2 separate regions of the Homo sapiens genome follow, and region 2 is linked to region 1. The links are contacts of gene promoters, found by promoter capture Hi-C in human tissues and cell types (Jung and others, 2019). All regions are on one chromosome and are shown on one strand. Each heading gives the region's core, a stretch centred on a gene start or on the middle of the fragment in contact. The rest is flanking DNA. Distances are from core to core; before and after follow the strand shown. Region 1 holds the start of TMCC2 (transmembrane and coiled-coil domain family 2). Region 2 overlaps KLHDC8A (kelch domain containing 8A).

Region 1 (7,574 bases), core at 3,116-5,615:
AAACAGACATTGGAATCTCCTGTGTAAGTCTTAGGGATGCTGTGAGAGAAATGATCACAAAGTTAGTAATCTGGGTTTGCTTACTCCTTTAAAACATTGCCAGTTTGGGCCAGGCGCCGTGGCTCACACCTGTAATCCCAGCACTTTGGGAGGCCGAGGTGGGCGGATCACCTGAGATCAGGCATTCAAGACCACCCTGGCCAACATGGAAAAACATTTTTAGTCTCTACTAAAAATTAGTCCGCAAAAAATTAGTCAGGCTTGGTGGCAGATGCCTGTAATCCCAGCTACTCGGGAGGCTGAGGCAGGAGAATTGCTTGAACCCAGGAGGCAGAGGTTGCAGTGAGCCGAGATCACGCCACTGCTCTCCAGCCTGGGCGACAGAGCGAGACTCCATTTCCAAAAAAAAAAAAAAAAAAAAAATTGCCAGTTTGGTATCAGAGATTCTGTGTTTTGAATGAAATAATGTATACAATTTCTGCATAAATATAGTAATGGCAGCTTTATTTCTAAAGGCAAAAAATAGAGAAAATTATGTCAAAGGATGAAGTGGATAGTATGTTAAACCATGATATCTTCAGTTGACAGAACATTAAGCAGTCATTTAAAATGTTTACTTAAACATATGGAATATGGCTAATAATATATGGAATAATATGGGAAAATGTAATAATGTTGAAAATGCTGCTGAGTACATTTCAAGTAAAAAATAGGATAAAATTTAGTTTAGGCTAATAAGAGCTTTCTCCAATCAGGAGTGATATAGAGCCTTCCTGGTCCTCTCTTCCTTTTACAATAGCCAGTAAAAAGCCTGTATTTAGGTGGTGGGATTGTGACAACATCAACAATCCAGACAATCTTCTTAAGGATTATTTGCATAGTTTACTCTTCCTAATCCAACAGAACTCAATTTCTTTTAAGGAGTGCACTGCGTGGAAGTGGTCATCTCCAACAAAAAGGGAAGAGAATTACATTAACAAAGGAGTATATGCAATGATATTGGTATCAAAATTCAGTGAGCAAAATTATTATATCTAGTCCCTCTAGAGAGTACTTTTACCTTTGAATCACTCTACTCAGTATGTTAAATCTTAAAATAGCGCACTGACAACCACTTATCCATTTGATGTTTAAATGTTTTTTTAAGTATTGCTATGGAATAGGACATAGAATTGCCTTGGATAATCTGCAAGCTTCTTACTATTGGCAAAAAGAGAAGCCTTTTATTTTTCAGACCTAATTGCTTTTACAAAAAGAAAGAAAACAAAACAAAACCCTACTCTACACTTTGTTAATCTTGGCACCTTATCCTCTATAATGAAAGCTTCAACCATTTATCAAACTAAATGAACTGGGTGTTGACAAGAGAGCAGGATTCCATAATTCTGCCCTTTATACTCCTTGTGTGTATACTTATTGGTTTAGCAAATTTGATACTACCAGAGTGCTCCCTTTCATTAGTTTAACTGGGATTTCTGTTCACAAAAAGCATTCAGCTTATTGGGATAATTCTCTTTCTCATATGGTATATGGGGGGCTTGGACAAGTTAATTATTTTTGTTTCACTTAGTTTTACTGCACATATACCATGTGTCAAGCATTTTCACGTGCATTATCTACCTTCATCCTCACAATAACCAGTGAAGATAGATAGTATTAGCCCTGGTTTATAGATGAGAAAACCGAGGGTGAAAGAGGTTAAGCTCACAAGAAGTAACCGAACTAGAATGCTTACATGAATTTTCTGACACCAAGACCAATGTTCTTCCCACTAAATCATGTTATTTCCTTGTAATTAACTAGGTGTGCCAAAACAGAATGGAAATGCTACTCCTACATAGAAAATATAATCACTTGCATTGTGTATCTGCAAACTTTTGTCTAATCTTGAATATCAAAACATAATTTGTGCCTATATTTTCCCAAAGAAACGTAGAATGATAGAATAATCTAATGCCGTAAACAAAATTTCAACCAACCAAAGTACTTTCAAGTTCTGATTTTCTTAGGTGCTCAAGAATTTGCTGCGGCTAATGAAAATTTGCCATTGGCTTCAAACTGGTGGTTATAGGTCACTCAGGTCTCTACACAGACTTCTCAGCCAAACTTCTTTGGCAGTAGCACACTTATTCCATAATATGACACTCAGTGAAAGTCAGAAATTGGTGGGACACATTTGAACTCCTGAAGATAGAAGCATTGGAGTGAAATGTGCAACACTTCTGAAACTGGATGACATCTGTGGTTATAGCTATGGCCCTCATTCTTTGCTAGGCAATGTCCAAGTGCTTTACATATATTACCCAACACCCTGTATGGTAGGTACTGTCATTATCCCTACTTCCAAATAATTCAGAAACTGGAGCATGAAGAGGTTAGATAACGTGTCCCCACTCACATGGTCAGTGAAGAGCAGAGCTAGGATTTGTCCCCTATCTGGCCATAGAGCCTGAGCTCTTAACCATTATGCTATGATGCCTCTCCAAAATGGAATGTAAAGTATTAGCTGATTTTATGAAACACACCACAGACTTTTTTGCTGACCTGAATCACACCTTGCAAATATGACGACAAGTAGAAAATGTGGCTGTCATGCTGTATGTATATGATAATATAAAAATCAAACTTAAGACCAACTTTTATCTAGTATAGAAATGAGGCATAATTCAAAATTATAATGCTCTCTGCTTCCTTAAACGAAACCAAATCCCTTCCTTAAACCAAATCCCTTCACTTTCCTTCGGCTTCGAGTCAGGTCATGAACATGTGTCAATGCATGCTCACCATTTGCTGGCCACCGCGTGCCCCTCAAGACTTGCTCAGGGTCTTTGGGGCCGCTGCACTTATCTGGGCCAAGTCAGGCAGGGAGCAGTATATTCCTCTGCTTGAAACCTTGCACCATGGGAACCTGCCCCCACCGGTTCTGTCTAGTCCTGCCCACGGTCTACACTGGCATCCTGCCATCCCCTCACCATTGAAAATGCTAAATAAAGGCTTATAGCTTTGTGTTTCCACATTGTGCTCGATTCTTTGTGGTAGATGTGGGGGGTGGTTCCACATTCCCAGCCCATCCTAAATTCCTATCTTCTAAAAGTGGAGCTGCCTAGTTTAGAAAGTAGCTGCTTGGCTGAAGTAAATTCTTAACAAATTAGTCTCTTCTAGGATACACATTAAAATGAGTGGTTGGAATGGGAAGAAGACAGAACAGAAAGTCAAGAAACTCCGACTAGTGAGACTGAAGTGAGGCTACAATGGCATGATGGGTGCGAAAGAGATTGGTAAACTGTAAAATCCTTTAGAGACCGTGTGGCCCCTTCACTGTCTAGGCCAGTGGTTCTCAAAGGGTAGTGTGTGTCAGAATTACCTGGAGGGCTTGTCAAAACACAGATTTCTTGGCTCACTACTTCTGATTCTCTAGGTCTGGCTGGTGGCCAAGAATTTGCATTTCTATCAAGTTCCCGTGTGATGCTGAAGTTGCTAGTCCAAGGATCACAATTTGTGAACCACTGGTTGCTGGATGAGTAAAATCCATTGTGTCCACAGGAGGCATACAATAGACACTCAGATGGGGTTGTTATTATTACTACTCTCCATATCTTGGTAACCCCAACGTTTGCTCTCTTCTGCTTCCAGATTACTCAGCACAGTTTGGCTGAGATTTATGCAAAGAGAGACAGCATTCCCTTTCCACACATCTATATGTAGCAACCTCCTGCCATTAATACCCTTTCTTATTTAAAAGCTGCTTCACAGTTTGTAAGGAACTCTCACATACGTTATTGTGTTTTTATATGAAATTCTTCCCAATTTCTGAGCATAAATTATGCCAAGTAAAGTCTCATTAAGAAATAATGCACTTAAAGCGGGGGACGGGGCGATGAGGAGAGAACGCCCCCTCCCCTTGGCATTTGCAGCTCTGAATGTAGGCATAGATTTAACTCAGACCAAGTATCCTAGAGGGGATAGGTGTCTCCCTTATGGCTAGAAGGTGCAAAGTTAAGAGCCCCAAAAAGCAGTGATAATAAACATCCCTCTTGTGCTCCTTCTCGCCAAATAAAGCGAATGGGTGGAGGAAATCCTGGGCGAGCCCTCCTCGGCAGGGTCCCTCAAGCTGGAGCCGAAACTGCGACTCCCACGCCCGCCGCCCCCGCCCCTGAACTGCAGCCCGCTCTCTGCAATGCAAAAACGCAGCAGCATCGTCCTCCAGCCCTCTCCTGGGGGATCGCACGGTGCAACCAACCCCAAAAACGAAGCTGCGCGACGCCCCCTCAGCCCCGCGGGCTTCCCATTGGCCGGTTGCCGCTGTCACTCCCTCCTAGCCTCGCCTTCCCGCTCCCGGGCGGAGGCAGCCGGGCGGGGTAGGTTGCGCGCTCGCCGCGGGCTCGGGCCGCGGTCGCGGCTTTGCGGCAGGCTGCGCGTCAGGCGGGGAGCGGGGCGCGCGGGCCGGGGAGGGGGCCGGGCGCGCTGCGGGCTCCGCGGCCGGACCATGCGGGGCAGGGGCCGGTTGCAGGGCCGGGGGCTGCAGCCGGCGCCGATGGCGGCCGACTAGGACCTGCCCGGCCGGCTGCCCCGCGCCCCGCCTCGCCCCGCAGCCCGGCCGGCCGGGAGGGATGCGCTGTGCCGCCCAGCTCCTCTCCGTCCTGCCCATGCCCTGAAGCAGAAAGTTTGGGGGCCGGGGGTTGTCTCCCTTCTCCCTCCTGCAATGACTGCCCAAGGACTCTTGCTGCCCAGCCTCGACTGTGACCTGTCTTCGCTCCCCAGGTCGAAATGAACTATTCCAAGCTATAACCAAGGCTCCCCCTTCTCGCCCCTCCCTCACCCGCCTTTAAGAATTTTTTTTTTAATTCAAGAAATTGTGGTCTGCCATCTCCCCTCCTTGTTAATAATTTAGACCCCAGGCCTCATATGAATATAAGAGGGGGTGCGGTCTTCCCCAAGACGGCGCGCTGGAAGGACAGATTCCCCTTGCCGACCCACATACACCATGAAGAGGTGCAGATCGGACGAGCTGCAGCAACAACAGGGCGAGGAGGATGGAGCTGGGCTGGAAGATGCCGCTTCCCACCTGCCGGGCGCGGACCTCCGGCCTGGGGAGACCACGGGTGCTAACTCTGCTGGCGGGCCAACTTCAGACGCCGGCGCTGCCGCGGCGCCCAACCCAGGTCCCCGAAGCAAGCCTCCTGATTTAAAGGTGAGCGCAGACCATCCCCCCGGCAAGCCCAGCCCGCGACTTAGCTCTCGCCACCCCACGCAGAAGTGCTTTAACAGGATAAAAGTGAGGGGGGAAGCCAGGCAAAGGTCAGAGAGGATGAGCGGATGCTTTGCTGGCACCCCAGGGGGGACGTCAGGTACCATTTATGCCTCTGTCTTTCAGCTCCGTGTCAGGTCTCTGTGTTTGTTCCCCATTATTCAGCAAGCGTTTTAGTGACTCACCCATCCGAGATTGTTTGAATAATGTGTGAAGTGTTATTCGCAGACAAAGGGCTGGAGAAATCCAAGATGCTAACCAAAAAGTGGACAGCAGGTGACCATTAGTTTTCCTTGCTGAGTAAGTCTCTACCCATTGGGATCTTTGTGTGTGTGTGTGTGTGTGTGTGTGTGTGTGTGTGTGTGTGTGTATGTGTGTGAGACGGAGTCTCGTTCTGTCGCCCAGGCTGGAGTGCAGTGGCGCGATCTCGGCTCACTGCAACCTCCACCTCCTCGGTTCAAGCGATTCTCCTGTCTCAGCCTCCAGAGTAGCTGGGATTACAGGCACCCGCCACCACGCCCGGGTAATTTTTGTATTTTTAGTAGAGACGGGGTTTCGCCATGTTGGCCAGGCTGGTCTTGAACTGACCTCAGGTGATCTACCCGCCTCGGCCTTCCTAAGTGCTGGGATTACAGGCGTGAGCCACCGTGCCGGGCCCCATTGGGATCTTTGAGCGCTTTCCTGGATGAAGCTCAGTTTGCCGATCTGTGAAGGGGCGGGGGGGGGGGGGTGGTGGCGGGGGCGGGGGGGGAAGGTGGATTTCCTGCCGTTAGGTGGAGCCAGAGGTTAAGATAGTGCTTGGAGATCTCTGCCTGCCTGCTGAACCAACCCCCAGGGTGGAGAACTGACAGGTGGTGGAGCAGTGCTTGGGCTGGTTTGGGGCCTCAGTTCAAGTTGCATACATGCTGAGCCAGCAGCTAGAACCAGAAGCCGAAAGAACTGTTCACATGGAGCTGTTTATTTTCCGGCCTGAGGTTGCCGAGACAATTGGCGAGCTGTCTTGAATATATCTCTATCAATTAAAACAGCAGCTGAGATAAATAATGCACCTTTGCCGGAACTGCCACAGGGACTGCAGGCTCAGGCTTCTCAAGCCAGCTCACCGTCCAGCTGAGCGAGATGTCAGCCCAAGGAAGGAACTTAGATGCCTTGGAAATTGATGCCTCACAGTTATTTTCTCCAGAGAAGGTGCAGGGTCTGGGCTAGGGAAACGGAAAGGACTCTGTTGCATTTAATAAAGCCTATATCCTATGGCAGCAGCCACTAAGGAGCTCACCAGAATAAGCCAATGCCATTCCTCATTTGGCCTGAGCAGCTCAGAGTCAGGAAGTCAGAGCGCAGGTGAGTGTGTGTGCTCTTACCTGTGTATGTTACCTGTCTGTGTGCCTTGGGGAGGAGTGAAAAGGGGGACGACTAGGTTATTGTTGTGTGTGTTTTTTAAACTTTGCAGTAATTATTCAAATCTGAACTCTGGTTCTGCCGCCGTCCTTTTCAGAGCTTCGTGGCTAGACTTATGTCTAGAGGATCTCTGTGGGATAGGCTCTCTCTGCACAAGAAGCTTGAGCTTTTGCCAGGCCCAGGGAGTCCTTGGTGTTTATCTCTGCTGTCACCCCCGAGTCCATCCCATGTGGTCAGGAGGTGTAGTTCCTGTTTTAAGTGAGATGGTGAGGGGGAAGGGGTCTCTTGAATGCTGTTGTGGGGAGGAGGCTAGCCTTCTGCTGCAGACTTCAGCCTCATTCTGAGCCGGTCCAGATGAGTCTGGCCAGCAAACCCTGAATCTTTGACCAATGAGACCCTCAGCTGAGTCTGTGAGAGGCAGCTTTGGAAATTCCCCACTCTCCAACTCAGGACAGCAGTGGAAACTGCTTTCTCCATTTATTCCCCCAGTTGCCTTCATGAGGAAGATGGGTTGGTCATGGCATGGGGGCTGCAGTGTCTCTGTAGAGGGACGCCTTAAGGGATGCCACGTTTCCACTCTCCTGTATTATCTTTTTTTTCTTTCTTTCTTTCTTTTTTTTTGGCAGTGCCCTCATTCTGGTCAGGGGCAGATGTAGTAACAACTTTACACTTGATATTAACTGCCGAACTGCCCTCAACCAGAATTGAAATCAGGTGTAAGAAAAGGAGGCTTCCCCTTACCCCGCGCCCCCATCCACCCCATCCCCCCATCCCCCCCCCCGCCCCCAGAGAAAACATACCATTGAACCCAGCAATGTGGACCCAGTAAGGAGCAGAAAACCCAGCTGCAGCCTGCTTGTGGGAGCATGGGGAAACAAGCAGGGCTTTTCCTGTTTATCTCTGTCTGCTTCATCACAACATGTTTACT
Region 2 (7,574 bases), core at 3,383-5,882, 110 kb after region 1:
GGGCCTTCGGTGACAAAAGGGCTAGGCCTCTGGTGGGGAGGGGGTGGCAAAAGGTGAAGTGGAATTAGGAGAGATGTGGGGAGCAGACCCAGGGCTGGGAGACTGCTCCTTCCCCATCACACATGCCCATCAAGGACCCCAAGAGGAAGGGATTCTTCCTGCCATGGCCTGGGCTGTCCAAGTGAGCCTGACTTCCCTTCCAAGGCAGCTGCCTCTAGCTTCATGTCCAATTCTCGCTGAGTAGATGAGGTCCAGGGTAGGCCCACAGTTGACCACCAAATGGTGAAGAGATATAAGCCAAGGGAGAAGAAAGTGGTTTGGAACCCCCAATCATTCTCCATTTTTCATCCTAAGCTACCTTAAAACTAGTTCAGAGCTGGGGAAAGACAGCAACAGCAGTCTATCCTCTCGGTCAGAACTGCTCTACCTGCCTCCTGGAGATGGGGGTGGGGGGAGGTGGGACTCACAGGAGGGAGAGGTAGGAAATATTCCTGTGCCTTTCTTTGCCTGTGCAGTAAGTGAAGACTCTCTTCAGAGTCAGCTCTGCAGCTGGTGGAGTCATCTGTGCCTCTTACAGTTTTCTGAGATTGGTAGGATTTGGAGCTATAGAGAGGTCAACTTAGAGCCCCAAGGCCAGACTCCACTGGTTGCTAACAGGAGCTGACATTCTTGGAAGTAGCCCCGACTGCTTGGACAAGATCATTCCTCATGTTAAGAGTGAAGTGATATGGTCCAGGGCAAAGGTACTGAGCCCAGAGACAGCTAGGAGTCAGAGACACACAGGGCCTCCACTGCGTCACTCAGACCCTGGTTGACACCTCCCACGGCGAGGAGGCAGTTCTTGACGACTATGCTGGAGCAGGCACAGCGGGGTGTGGGCATGGCAGGGAGGATCTCCCATTTGTTCTTCCCTGGGTGGAATGCTTCCGCCGTCTCCAGGACAGTGGGTTGATTCCCTGAAAGTGTCAAGGGAATCAGACCTTACAAAGGAGTCCAACCACCAATCCATGCCCCACGGTCACCCCACCTCCCTCCCTTCGGCACCCACAAGCAGAAGCCAAGCAAGGTCAACTTCCTTGGCTACAGGATTACTCCCTTTACTAAGCCAGTGGCTTTTGTCAAGCAGCCACTTTGTCCCTCCTACCGTCTTCCTGTCTCTTTAAGAGTAAGCTTTCTTTCCCTACCCATTGCTTTTTACCAGAGCTTTCTAGCACACTACTGCCTCACTGCTGCCCTTTCCTAAAAAAGCTACTGACATGGTCTAGTTGACACGGTTCCTTCATGCCTGAGTAAAGTGGGAGTTTGTCCACACTAAGTAGACTTGGGGTACCTGGAAGCCCTGCTGCCTGGATCTCTCTTCCTTGATGATGGGGAACTTCTCGCTTTAGAGTCCCTCCTTCAAAATACTAGTAATCTCTGGCAGAGTTAATACATCAAACCCAAGATTCATCTGTTGAACTTATTTAATCAGATTGCTTTCCTGTTCCACGATTGGGCTGGAACAGGATAAGAGACTGGTCAGAGGAGGACCAAGGCTAATCCCCTCCACAGTTTGTCTCCAGTCATTCCCGTTTAGGGATCTGTGCTCAGTAAGCCTGTGCTGCACGGCTACGGGTGTCCCTTATTCTCTCTGCGTCACAGTTTCCCTGTGTAGGAGGACAGAAAGGCCACACCTGGGGCCCACAGTGGATAGGTAATATCTAGGCTGGAAGAAAGGGAGTGCTTCGAATTTTTTGGAGTATAGTGGTAGGCAGGTGGTCTGCAGGGAGTCAGTACCCTTTCCTGCATATGCAAAGTGCCAAGGATCCACTGAGCACCAGAACCACAATAAATTCCAGCGTGAAAGCGCCATCCTTACCAAGTCCCCCAGCCACTATGACCCGTCCACTCAGAGAGCCAGCCACAAAATCTGCCCGCCGCTTCTTGAGGAAGAACGATCGTTCCATCTTCAGCCATCCCCCTATAGGCCATGGATAATGGTGGGTTATATAGACAGAATAAGATACAGACCACTCCCACCAAATGCAGATTGTGGCCCAAATAGCTTTCACCCTGGGCAGTGTCTTCACTCTATTTATCCTTTATGCTTGGGGAGTACACAGTTCCTCCTGCTGTTTCAAATTCTCTGTGGCTTCCCCCTCTCCCATGCTTGCTGCTCTGTAAGGCATCATCATCCCCTACAATGAATCACCTTGACTTCTGGTTAGGAGGCTAATAGAGGCAGTGAGGGAGGAGTCAGGATCCTTCTGTTTCTCCATCAGTAAAAAGTAAGAAAAATCCCTCTCTGACCTGGTCCTGTGTGAATATTGTAAGAAAAGACAATATAGGTAGAAAAGGGGCTTTGATAAAAACCAACCAAGCAAAAAGGGGACCTATACCAATGAAGGAATTTGATTCCAAGAGTAGCCCTGAGTGGAGAGGGGTGCTGAGACTTCTGAGAAGCTTGCCCAGCTGGGTAAACGGCCCTGGAAGATGGCTGGAATAGGGGTAAGGGATGGGGAGCCAGCCAGAAGGGCAGTGGGCAGCCAGAGCTTCCTGGGGAAGGTGACCAGCTCACCCTGTTCCATGTCGAACACGTCCATCGTCCGCAGGAACTTGGGCTGCCGGTAGAGGCGACCTTGCCGCAGGCCTCCTAGGCTGTACAAGTGGTTGTCCAGGGTCACAAAGCTGGAGAAGGCCCGCTTATAGGGAATGTTGGGAAACTTGGTCCAGGAGCGAGTCTCGATGTCAAAGACCTCGAAAGCGTTGACCGCGTACTTGGACTGTCGTCCCCCTGGGGGCCAGAGCAGGATAGAGGTTGGGCAGAAGGGTTGTCCCTGAGGACAGCGACAGTGAAAAGGGTTTCCCCTTTTGACAGTTACTCATTCATACAGGAAGCTCCCGGTGGGCTGGGCAGTGTGATTATCCCCAGTGCCGAGGAGATGCTCAGCACACAGGCACTGCTTCCTATGGGAACTGAGCCAAGGGAAGGAAGGAGGGTAGGTATAGAACAGTAACCTGTCCTTACCCAGCACGTAGATCTTGGAGCCTCGGAGGAAGGAGGTGGCAGCATATCTCGGGGTGGGCATGGGTGCTAGGGACACCCACATGTCCTTCAGCATGTCATAGTGTTGGAGGTGGTTGTGTGGACGTAGGTCCAGGCCCATCCCGCCTGCCGCATATACTCGGTAATCTAAGAAGAAAGGCCATACATGCCCCTGGCTTAGCTCACAGGTACAGCAAGACAGGCCCACCAGCATCTATTGCCTCCCATGGCCAGGCCAAGCTTTCAACCACTGCTCAGCCAGAGTGAGTCATATCTGTATCAGTGTGGTTGATAGCACCATTCAAAGAAGTTCCTGCTATAGCTAAGCCTGAGAGTCTGTTTCTTTTTTTTTATTTTTATTATTATTATTTTTTTAGATATGGTCTCATTCTGTCATCCAGGCTGGAGTGTGGCATAATCATGGTTCACTGCAACCTTGACCTCCTGGGCTCAAGAGATCTTCCCATCTCAGCCTCCCAAGTAGCTGGGACTACAGGTCCATGCCACCACACCTGACTAATTTTTGTATTTTTTGTAGAGACAGGGTTTTGTCATGTTGCCCAGGCTGGTCTCGAACTCCGGGGCTCAAGCAATCCTCTTGCCTCGACCTTCCAAAGTGCTGGGATTGCAGGTGTGAGCGACTGTGCCCAGCTGCCTGGGTCTTTTGAAGCCATGGTACGACTACACGCCCTAGTCTTCCTTAGTGTCCAGCCCTTTGGCTAAGCCTGAAACACTGCGTGAAGTTTAGGCCTGGAAAACCCTTTGCAGGTCTTATCCCCTTCACTGTCCTCCCTGGGCAGCCAGAGGGGAAGCCAAAGAGGAGAGGTATTCTTTTTTTTTTGAGACAGAGTCTTGTTTTGTTGCCCAGGCTGGAGTGCAATGGTGTGATCTCAGCTCACTGCAACCTCTGCCTCTCGGGTTCAAGCGATTCTCCTGCCTCAGCCTCCAGAGTAGCTGGGATTACAGATGCCTGCCACCACACCTGGTATTTTTAGTAGAGACGGGGTTTCACCGTGTTGGCCAGGCTGGTCTCAAACTCCTGACCTCAGGTGATCCACCTGCCTTGGCCTCCCAAAGTGTTGAGAATACAGGCATGAGCCACCACGCCTGGCTTCAATGAGTAGAGATATTCTTCTGATGCCCTTTCCCCAGGCATTCACAAACTGGCATTTTTAGATATGGCAGGGGCCTTTAGAAATAAGATGAGTCATGCTGTCACTGGCCTATGGGACACTGGACTGCTGCTGGTTCTGTGTCTGCCAGCCCCATTGGGGAATGCCATCTTCCTTCACAAATTGGGAAACTTGTGGGATCCAGGAGTCACTTCAACTAAATGAGATAGGGCTAGGGGTGAATGAGGGTGAAGCTTTGGAGAGAGTACTGGTCCCTTTAAGAAACCCTGCCCAGGAAGTGAGCTGGGATACTTTGAGAAGTGAGTCTCCTCTCATTCTCTACTACTCTTGACTGTAGGTGGCCTTTCAAAGGACTTCACTACACCAGAGAGGATGGGCAAGGCATCTGTGTTTCCCTGGGTCCCACCCCAGGACCTCCCAGGCCTCTCTTTCTCAGGGAGCCACCCCTGCCCGGGATTCTGTCTGCCAGCAGCCAGTCCTCAATGCTTCTGGCTCCAGGAGGCCTTTATTCTTAAGGTGATTGTAGGGATGAGTACTATTTCCTCCTACTTTCCAATCTTATTGGAAAAAAAAAAAATGCCAACCCTAGCCTGAGGCTGGAAGACGGTGCCTGCTAATGAGGAATTCACCTTGCACAAGATCCACCCCTCCCATCCTGTGTTACTTGAAACTCCTCCTCCTGGGAATCCTCCCATCCACTCCTCACTACTGTTTTTGTGCCCAATTCTTACTCATCCTTTCAGACCCATCTGGGCGTCCCTGAACTACAAGCCTGGGTCGACAGCACCGGCTCAGTGCCTTCTGTTACCCTATTCCATCACCCTAATTGCCACCTGTTACTGAATAATCTTTGTTTCTTTTTCTTTTTTTTTTTGATACGGAGTCTTGCTCTGTCACCCAGGCTGGAGTGCAGTGGCGCGATCTCGGCTCACTGCAAGCTCTGCCTCCCAGGTTCACGCCATTCTCCTGCCTCAGCCTCCCGAGTAGCTGGGACTACAGGCGCCCGCCACTGTGCCAGGCTAATTTTTTATATTTTTAGTAGAGACGGGTTTCACCATGTTAGCTGGGATGGTCTTGATCTCCTGACCTCATGATCCGCCCGCCTCAGCCTCCCAAAATGCTGGGATTACAGGCGTGAGCCACCGCGCCCGGCCAATCTTTGTTTCTTTCAATAGACTGTAGGCCGTTGAGAATTTGTTAAATCTACAGCCCCAGCATCTGGCACAATGCCTGGCACACAGGCATGTAAATGCTTATTAAACTAACTGCAGAACCCATTCAGTGCCATAGTAAGAGCACAGACTCAATCATCACTATCTGTGTCACCTTGGGCCAGTGTTTTAACTAACTCTTTGGGCCTTACACTGCTTCTCTCTAAAATCAGAGTAATACTAGCACTTACCTGTATACAAAGCACAAATGGTAAGGATTCAATGAATGTTAGTTCTTAATCTTTCAAGACCATTTACTGAGGCCTGGGATGAAGATGTGCTCTTTCCCTCCCTTGCTCTCCGTGGGCCTCCAGGCCTTCCATCCTTCTTACTGGGAGGTCACAGAAGCCCCACTGGCCATGCTGCCCTGGGGGATTCTGCACTAGAGTTTCTCTCTAGTTACTTTCATTGGTCAGATCCAGGCTCCTGAAGGCAGGGAACAGATCTTCCGCCTCTTTCCTTCCCTCCTGGAGCCTGGCACTGTGCTGGGGACAGAGCAGGTGCTCAAGAAATACTGGTTCCCAATCTATAGTAGACTTGACATGCAGCTAGTATGGTTTAGCAAAAGAGGGAGGGAGGAAGAGGAGACGGAGGGAAGGTTGCATCCCACTGCAAGCCTGTGCTGCTCAGGTGTGTCTGAACTTGGTGTCTCCTAATTCCCATTGAACCATCTCCCACAAAACCCTTTGTGTTTTAGCAAAAGAGCTTTCGGAGCTCTAGGTTCTGGGCTGTACTAGGCGTGAAAAGAATGAAATGGGGGCTTTGAGAAAGGAAAATGAGAATCACAAAACCATGTAGTGAGGACATGCATGCCCTGAGGACTTAGTGAAACGCGGCCAGACATGAACCCTCAGGAACATTCTGGTCTCCACTGAGCGTCTCTGAGATTGGGAGGCAGAGGGGCAGGTTGAAGGTGGAAGAGGCCCCTGGAATCAGGTCCCAAAGCCCTCTCAGTGGGGCCTGGTGACGCTACAAGGATGGAGTGAGCATTGTCAGGACCCCAAATAGGTGTCTGGGGGTGGTGGCACCTGCAAGGCAAGGCAGGTTTCAGGGGCTGGGGTGTGGCGGCGGGAGGTGCAGGCATTTTGCTGAACGCATGGGGTCTGCAGAAATATGGCACTAAACTCCACAGCCCACAGCAAATGCCTGTTGGTTTCCATCTGTTTCCCTCCTGGCCCCCCACTTCCTTCTCTCTGGCCGCCCTCAGCCCTGGCCCCACTTGCCTTTGGCCGTGACAGAAATGCCCATGGCGGCCTCACGCAGCATGCTCCTCTTCTTCCACTTGCCCTCATCGATGTTGTACATCTCCACGACCTTCAGGGGCAGCTGATTGGTGCCCACGCCCCCAATCACCATGATCCGCTTCCCCAGGGCGGTGACGGCCACCCCCGCCCGGGCTGTGGGCAGCCGGGGCAAGGCGGTCCACTGGTCGGCCTCCGGGGAGTAGACCTCGAAGCAGTCCATGGGGACGCCGTTGTCGTCACATCCCCCGATGGCATAGACCTGGCCCCCGGTCTCCAGCAGGGAGCAGTAGACCCGGCGGCTGGGCAGTGGCGCCAGGCGCTTCCACTGGAAGTCCTTGACGTTAGGCACCTCCATGGCAGCCTTGGGGAGCGCCCGGGCGCCGGGAGAGGTGCGAGCGCGGGGGTCCACCGGCTACTTGGCGCCGGCTCCCACGGCCCCTATCGCCACCTCCATCTGGCTCCCGAGCGCCGGACCCAGCCAGACCCCGGCCAGTGCTTCACCGTGCCCCGAGTCTCAGCGGTCCGGCGGCGTCCACGCCTGGCCCTGCGGGGGGAACGCGGTGAATCAAGGGCAGCTGGGGCCACGCGCCCTCCGGCGGGCAGCGGATGGGCTCCGCAGCCCCTGGTCAACTTCACTGGGAAGACGCGGCGGCGGAGGGCGCCCCCCGGGGGCAGCACCACACCCTGCACTGCTTGGTCCCCGCCCCCTCCCCACCCGCTGCTCGGACACTGCCGAAGCAAGCCGCAGGCCGGGGCTTTCAGGGGTTCGGGGTGCCGGGCAGTCCCCGGGCGGAGGAAGGAGTTAGCGTCTCTCGGCGTCGACGCCTCTCTTTCCCCGCGCCCCCTCCCCGCAGTCTCGGCGCCCCCGCCCCCGCATCACTTACGCTGCCAGGCCCGGGGAGCGCGGCGGCGAGGCGCAGACGACGCATCACTGGGGAGCCCGGAGCCCCCGCCCCGCTGC

The links. Contacts are between HindIII fragments. The study calls those that stand out against the background at their distance.
Region 2: a fragment that was not itself captured here is called in contact with the fragment with the promoter of TMCC2 in region 1 in 6 of the 25 tissues and cell types used here (bladder, liver, lymphoblastoid cells and 3 more).

The regions. Positions count from the first base shown.
Region 1 is chr1:205,223,581-205,231,154 of GRCh38, forward strand. It overlaps TMCC2 (transmembrane and coiled-coil domain family 2), which reads left to right and starts at 4,366. Exons shown (of 5, transcript NM_014858.4): 1 at 4,366-5,191. The coding sequence starts at 4,985. RefSeq lists an enhancer at 4,017-4,156 and a silencer at 4,287-4,466. The HindIII fragment of the contact is 10,382 bases long and covers 1-7,574 here.
Region 2 is chr1:205,336,637-205,344,210 of GRCh38, forward strand. It overlaps KLHDC8A (kelch domain containing 8A), which reads right to left. Exons shown (of 6, transcript NM_018203.3): 2 at 6,593-7,157; 3 at 3,008-3,172; 4 at 2,558-2,773; 5 at 1,859-1,960; 6 at 1-956. The coding sequence starts at 6,968. The coding sequence ends at 763. Among named protein-coding and RNA genes, the nearest start is that of KLHDC8A, 16 kb to the right of the region's middle. RefSeq lists a silencer at 3,294-3,343 and an enhancer at 6,641-7,201. The HindIII fragment of the contact is 5,653 bases long and covers 1,807-7,459 here.